Regions from separate parts of the Homo sapiens genome. Here region 2 is linked to region 1. Evidence: promoter capture Hi-C in 16 types of primary human blood cells and fetal thymus (Javierre and others, 2016). All regions are on one chromosome and are shown on one strand. Each heading gives the region's core, a stretch centred on a gene start or on the middle of the fragment in contact. The rest is flanking DNA. Distances are from core to core; before and after follow the strand shown.

The links. The method cuts DNA at HindIII sites, captures the fragments that hold promoters and counts their contacts. A CHiCAGO score of 5 or more calls a contact.
Region 2: a contact is called between a fragment that was not itself captured here and the fragment with the promoter of KCTD21 in region 1, in 3 of 17 cell types (neutrophils, fetal thymus and monocytes). The highest score is 8.1, in neutrophils.

What each region holds. Positions count from the first base shown.
Region 1 is chr11:78,186,665-78,190,339 of GRCh38, reverse strand. It overlaps KCTD21 (potassium channel tetramerization domain containing 21), which reads left to right and starts at 1,714. Exons shown (of 2, transcript NM_001029859.3): 1 at 1,714-1,767. USP35 (ubiquitin specific peptidase 35) reads right to left here and starts at 1,421. Exons shown (of 11, transcript NM_020798.4): 1 at 1,183-1,421. RefSeq lists silencers at 1,068-1,227, 1,658-1,997. The HindIII fragment of the contact is 4,363 bases long and covers 685-3,675 here.
Region 2 is chr11:78,444,646-78,448,207 of GRCh38, reverse strand. All of the region lies in intron 11 of NARS2 (asparaginyl-tRNA synthetase 2, mitochondrial), which reads left to right. Among named protein-coding and RNA genes, the nearest start is that of LINC02728, 17 kb to the right of the region's middle. The HindIII fragment of the contact is 6,277 bases long and covers 1-3,562 here.

The DNA of each region.
Region 1 (3,675 bases), core at 465-2,964:
AGGTCACTGGACTGGACTGAGGCTTTAGCCATTCTAGAAATTGTTCAAACAACCAAAGCAAAAGAAAAAGCACAAAACAAAAACAAAACAAAACAAAACAAAAATCTGTTCCTGGTTAGCCTTCAGGTCAAAAGCTCACAGAATCTCCTAGGACCTGAGAAGAAGGCTTCATGGTGTTACTCAACCTCTCCCTGCTCCAGGTCAGAGCAGCCCCTCCCAGCCTCTGCTCAGCACCTAAGAGCTGAGGAGCACATTTCCTCCCCTCTCTGACCCTCGAAGCCAGCCTCCCTCCTTTGACTCCCCTGGGAGCCAGAGCTTCCTTGGGGGTACCAGGCTGCCCCTCCCGACACCAGGTGGTGCCCTCCATCTCTGGCCCCTCAGGTGTCTGAATGGCAGCATCTCTCTAGGTATTTTTTAACTGAACTTCTACCCAAGGCAACCCTGGGAAGAAGTGCTTCACCCTACTCCGGGAGGCCCATGTCTGGGCCACCAAACTGTCTCCTGGAAAGAAAAAGAAAAAAGGGTTTCACTGGTAAAAAGCAGCTGCTCTTCCTCAAAGGATAAGGAGGAGAGAGAAGGGAAGAAAGCAGGAGCAGCTATTCCTCCTCAGGAACCCACCACACACACCTATCCCTGCGGGGCCACCCCTCACAAACCTGTGAGGGCCGCACTCCACCCCAAGCTTTCTGGAAGGAAGGGCACCAAGCTGACACATCAGGGTCTCCGGTTTGCAAGGGCCAGGGCCGTAAGAGGGGGTTGGGGAGGGTATCCCAGGGCCCAGCACACTGAGAATAGGAAAAGCCCATTCCAAGCAATGGTGGCCTCGGGCCCCCCAGTTTGTGCCACCTCCCTCCCTCCAGTGCACCCGCGCCCAGCCCACGCTTGAGCTGGAGGGCCCCACGAAAAGCCAGCAAGCGAATGTACTAGGTACTGGGTGCGAATGCCCTCTTACCTGAAAGGGGAGGGAGCAGGATCACTTCGACATACAATTGATGAAGGGAGGGGATTAATGCCCAGAGAGGAATAGCTACTCGCCCAAGGTCACACAGTGAGGCCCAGGAGGCCCAGGATGCACCCAGATCTCCCGACTCCCAGCCCTGGGCTCGCAAGTCCAGGGTTCTCGAAAGGCCAGGGTGCAGACACCGCCCCCCAAAGACAGTCACACGCCCCCAACCCCCTTACCTCCCGGACCCCGGTGGGCCAGAGCCGGCTGCTGGGCGGGGCGCTCAGGCCGGGCAGGACGAGGCTGGGCCCGGCTAGGTCAGGGCTGGTCCTCTGCTCCCCCCAGGGTGGGGACGCCCTCAGCCAGGTCCCAGACGGAAGAGATGCTGCTTCCACTGCAAAATCCAGTCTTCCCACCCCGCCTGGCACAAGCCTCTATGTATCCAGGAAGCCCGACTCTGCGGCGCGGCCCCGGGGCTGCGGGATGAAGCATGGGGAGGGGCGAGGTGCGTGAAATGGGGCGGAGCCGGAGCGGGGGCCACCCCGCGAGCTGCCACTCTGACCGCGTCCCCTTTAAGGCCAGCCGGCCGGACACCGGCGGGGACGAGGCGGGGCGCAGAGCAACTCGCTGCAATGCCTCCTGGGAGATGGAGTTCGCTCTCGACGCGCCGAGCTGCGAGGAGCCCAGAGAGAACTACCAGTCCCGGAAGGCAGCGCACAGACCCCGGACCGCCACGCCCCTGGGCTGGGCTCCTACCCTCCGCCCCCCTCGCAAAGCTGCGCTGGCCGCTCGCGGAGGGAGAGGCTGCAGAGCGAGGGCAGGAGGTGGGTGCGGCACGGCCGGGGTCGCGGGGCTCGGGGACTACCGGCGAGGGTACGTGGGCCCACTGAGCACCTGTCTTACCATGAGACTAATCTATCCCAGCCTCGCCATTCCCATCTGTGAAATGGGGATGGCATCGCCTGTGGTGCGGGGGAGGGGGCGCGTTTCGGAGCGAGGTGAGCCGAAGTGGGCAGAGCTCTTAGAGGGGCGGGGCTGTTGGGAGAGCAAGGGCGGATGGTGATAGTCGGAAAAGCCCGGATAATGAGGGTCGGGACTGTGGGAGGAGTCCTTGGTGGGTGGGGCAAGGAGAGGCGGGATCTCTAGGTGGGGGTGGGGCACTTGTCAGGTCGGAGTGGGGGCTGTAGGGCTGGGGAGTGGGTGCGGAACAAGCCGATGAGGCCAGCCTGGGTGAGATTGGGGAAGGAAGGGCGGAGACACAGATGACAGGGAACTTGCCCCGCTCTGGAGAGCCCTGGGCCGGCCGCGCTGTGGCGGCGTGGGCAAAAGCCTGTGATGCATAGAACACCTCCCTTTACTGACTGGAAATAAAGAGTCCATCCCCGAGTTCAGTGCGGCACACCAGTGATCTCATTGACCTCCCACGCCCTGAAAAGTAGAGGCGTCACTATAGCGGTTGACAGGTGAGGAATGTGAGGCTCAGAAAAGCGAAGGGACTTGCCTAAAACCACTCAGGACTCCTTACTTCAAAGACCTTGCTTTTCTCCCTGCACTCGGGGAGGCAGAGGTTTAGCTTGGCGTGGGAGGCAGGAAAGAAAAGTTTTGATGCCCCGACCTTCGCAAATTGTCTGGCAGGACCAGTCCCCCCAACCCTTCCGAATGACAGCCTGTAAGGCAGCCCTCCTATAGTACTGTGAGGATGAAATGAGATGGATTTGAAAGCACGGTGTTTATAAATTACTGTTTGGAGGAGACATAGGAAGAGAGCGGTTTGAAATGGGGTGCTGGTGCCGGAGGAAAAGCACAAGGTGAAGCGTGAGAGTGAGCCGAGAAGGTGAAGGAAAGTTCTGGAAGGGGCTGGGGGATGGTAGTGGTTGTTGGAGGTCTACGCCAGATGAAAGAATACCTTGCCGTGCCAGATTCCGTGGTCTCCTTCTTCCAGCCCACCTTTCTCTCCTCCTGCCTTTTGCGCAGCTCATTCTGGGGTCCCTGTGTCTAGGAAGCACCTTTTCTCTCCTCCCTATGGGTTGTGATGGTAATAGAGCAGCCTTCGGATTTCTTAGAGATATGGACTGGGCAAGACAGAATTATAGACGCAGCTCTTTGATGTGGGGTGGTCAGGAAGAGGAGGTGAAGAAAGGGTAGTCGTCCTAGGGGCTTCAAGGCAAAGAGTCCTTTCTCCGGTGGGGTAAGGTGGGGAAGTCTCCCACTTACTGGAAAACACAGTACTCACTCTGAGCATTGTCTTTTTTGAAATTTACCCAGCCACGTGCTGTCCATTCCCTTACGCAGTGGAAACTCTCCTTGCATTTACTCCCAAGTAATCACCTCGGCCTTGTCACATCCCTTTAGATTCCAGATTGAAAATTGAACAGAGCATTTCAAAATTAAAAAGTTTTGAAAATCCAGGTGGGGAAAATGGATCTGACTAAACAGGAGAGAAATTTCTTCCTCTTCCCCTATTCTACGTGCTTCTGTGGATATAGAAAGGGGCACCCCCAGCCCCAGCAAGGGAGCCAGGCATCCATCTACTTAAGTAAAGTTGGCTGTGGTAAGGGGTTAGACTAAAATTCTCCGCAGATGCAGAGGAGAAGGAATGAATTCCAGCTGAGAGACCTGGCCGATGCATGGGATTTGTCTTCAAGGTCCAGGCAGAGGGGATGGCAGATGCCAAATTGCAGAAGTCGAAGAGGGCCCAGTATGGTTGGTCTGTAAAGTAGGTATATAATAGT
Region 2 (3,562 bases), core at 457-2,956, 260 kb before region 1:
ACAAGTCATTGTTTCATATATATAATAAGTATATGCAACATTCTAACGTTATGGGGTATAATGTACTGTTTTGATATGTGTATACAATGTGGTATGATTAAATCAAACTAATTAGCAGATCCTTCACCTGACTTATCTATCATTTTTATAGTGAGACATTTGAAATTTACTCTTAGTTATTTTAAAATATATAATATGTATTGTTGACTCTAGTCACCTTGTATGTAATAAATCTCAAAATCTATTCTTCTGCCTGAAATTTTGCACCTTTTGATTAATAACTCATTCCCCTGTCTCCCATTCCTCTGTCCATCTGAAACTTTGTACCCTTTGATCAGCAACTCTTCGTTCCCTTCCTTCCCACTCCAGCCTCTGGTAACCATCATTCTATTATATATTTCTATTCATTCAGCTTATTAGATTCCATATGTAAGTGAAATTATGTGGTATTTGTCTTTCTGTGGTTGGCATATTTCACTTAGCACATTATCCTCTGGATTCATCCATGTGTCACAAGTGACTGGATTTACCCCCTTCTTAAGGCTGAATAGTATTTTATTGTGTATATATATACACAATATTTGTCCATTCATCTGTTGATGGGCACGTAGGTTGTTTCTGTATCTTTACTATTGTGAGTAATGCTGCAGTGAACATTAGAGTGCAGATATCACCACCAATATACTGATTTCTATTCTTCTGGATATATATACCCAGAAGTGGGATTGCTGAGGTGTATGTTCTGTTTTTAGGTTTTTGAGGAACTTCCATACCATTTCTCATAATGACGGTACTAATTTACATTCCCACCAACAGTGTATAAGAGTTCCTTTTCTCTGTATCCTCTCCAAACTTATTTTTCATCTTTTTTATAACAGCCATTCAAAGCTGGGCCTGATGGTGGCATGTACCTATAATCCCAGCTACTTAGGAGGCTGAGGCAGGAGATCGCTTGAACCCAGGAGTTCAAGTCCAGCCTGAGCAACACAGCAAGACCCCATCTCTATTTAAAAATATAAATGTAGGAAGAAAAAAAAAAACACTAACAGGTGTGAAGTGATAACTCAGTGTGGTTTTATTTTTCATTTTCTTAATAATTAGTGATTTTGAGCATTTTTTCTTGCACCTGTTAGTCATTTGTATGTTTGTTTGTTTTTTTTTTGAGAAATGTCTGTTCAGTTCCTTTACCTTTTTTTAATCACGTTATTTTCTTGTTGAGTTGTATGAGTTCCTTATGTATTTTGGGTATTAACCCCTTATAAGATGTATGGTTTGCAAATATTTTCTCCCATTCTTTGAGTTGTCTCTTCACTTTGTTAATTGTTTCCTTTGCTGTGCAGAAACTTTTTAGTTTGATACTGTCTCATTTGTCTGGTTTTGCATTGGTTGTCTGTGCTTTTGGAGTCATCTCCAAAAAAATCATTGCCCAGACTAATGTCATAGAACTTTTTCTCTATATTTATTTCTGGTAGTTTTATGATTTCAGATCTTATATTTAAATCTTTAATCCATTTTGAGTTAATTTTAGAGCTAAACAAGGATGAAATGCTCTGTTTCAAGGATACTGTTTCTCAGGCTTTAAATATTTTCAAGCAGAAGCCAGAGAGCCACTGGTTGACTATTCTTTTCCAAAGTTGATTGCCTATAATTCTAAATTTAACACTCTGGATTGAAGGTAAGAAAAGAACAAAATTTTTACCATGTGTCTCTCAACTCCTATCATATTTTAGCCATATCTAAAAGCAAGACACCAGGAAATAAAGATACCAGACTTCCTCCTTGCTCTGAGGACAGAAGGGATAACTGCAGGGTCCTGATTAGAGCCCAGCCATATTAATTGTGTAGCTGTTCTTGCTCACTCTGATTCAGCCTAGTGATGAGGGTCAGAGCTGATGTTTTTCTCTTTAATCATAGTAATGAGGATAAGGTATACAGCACTGGGGGTACAATCTTGAATTATTCTTTATTGTTGATTATTCATAAAGTATATCTCAATCAAAAGTTTCTAAATCAAAACTGGGAAGGGGATGGCTTAACGGCAAAGTGAGGCAAAGTTTTTAAAATGTTTATAATGTAATGTGACATTTAAAGATTAAAATGTGTTTTATGGATTTCTCATTTTTCATTTGTTACATGAAATCTTAGTTTTTTACCTTCAGGTTCTTGGGCTTAAAAATGTCTACCTGCCCAAAAGACAGGAAAGTCACAAAATAATACAGATAGCAAATAAATATATATATATTTTTTTGAGACAAGGTCTTGCCTGTCGCCTAGACTAGAGTACAGGTGGTATAATCATGGCTGACTGTAACTTCGAACTCCTGGGCTCAAGTGATATTCCTGCCTCAGTTTGACAAGTAGCCGGGACCACAGGCATGCACCACCACACCTAGCTGCAAATAAACATTTTAAAATTATTTTGTAGGGACGGAGTCTTGCTGTGTTGCCCAGGCTGGTCTCAAATTCCTGGCCTCAAGCAGTCCTCCCACCTCAGCTTCCCAAGTAGCCAAGACTACAAGCACATGCCACTGTGCCCAGCCACAAATAAACATTTAAAAAAAATTTTTTTAATTGTTTTTTGGGAGACAGACAAAATCTCGCTTTGTCATCCAGGCTGGAGTACAGTGGCATGATCTTGGCTCACTGCAACCTCCGCCTCATAAGTTCAAGCAATTCTTCGTGCCTCAGCCTCCAGAACAGCTGGGACTACAGGCATGCGCCACTGCACTTGGCTAATTTTTGTATTTTTGGCAGAGAGGGGGTTTCACTAGGTTGGCCAGGCTGGTCTCGAACTCCTGACCTCAGGTGATCCGCCCACCTCGGCCTCCCAAAGTATTGGGATTACAGGCGTAAGCCACCGCACCCGGCCTGAAAAATTAAATATTACTAATTTAATAATTGAAGAAATATAATTAATTTAGTAATACTAATTAGTAATTGAAGAAATACAAATTAAAATATTAAGCTATCATTTTCCCTTACTAAGAGTTTTTTGATGTTTTCTATTATAAAACTATAATACCTGTTTAGTATAGAAAATAAGAAAATACAAATAAAAGAGGAAAACAATTTTAAAATACTTGTAATCTCATCACAGTAGCAACACAACATCTCATTATGTAGATGATAGTCTTTTTTCTATCCATGTCTAAAACTTATCTAATAGTCTGTTGATGTACATTTGAACTTTTTGTCATAAGTAATGCTGTAATAAACATCTTGCATGTTAATCTTTTTTTGCATCTCTGATTTTCTTAGGATAGGTTCCTTGAACTGCTTGCTGAGTCAAAACATATTGCATTTTTCAGGCGTTTGGTTATCTGTTGCCAAATTGCTGACCAGAAAAGTTGTATCAGTTATATGAGCTTATTGGTTTATCCATTCTATAATCTGTATTCTTTATTTTATTTTCCTATATTTTTTCTTTCAGACTTAGTCTTGCAGATATATTATTTTCTTATCACCCTTTTTTTTTTTTTTGTTTTGTTTGAGACAGAGTCTTGCTCTGTCGCCCAGGCTAGAATGCAGTGGTGCAATCTTGGCTCGCTGTGACCTCCACCTC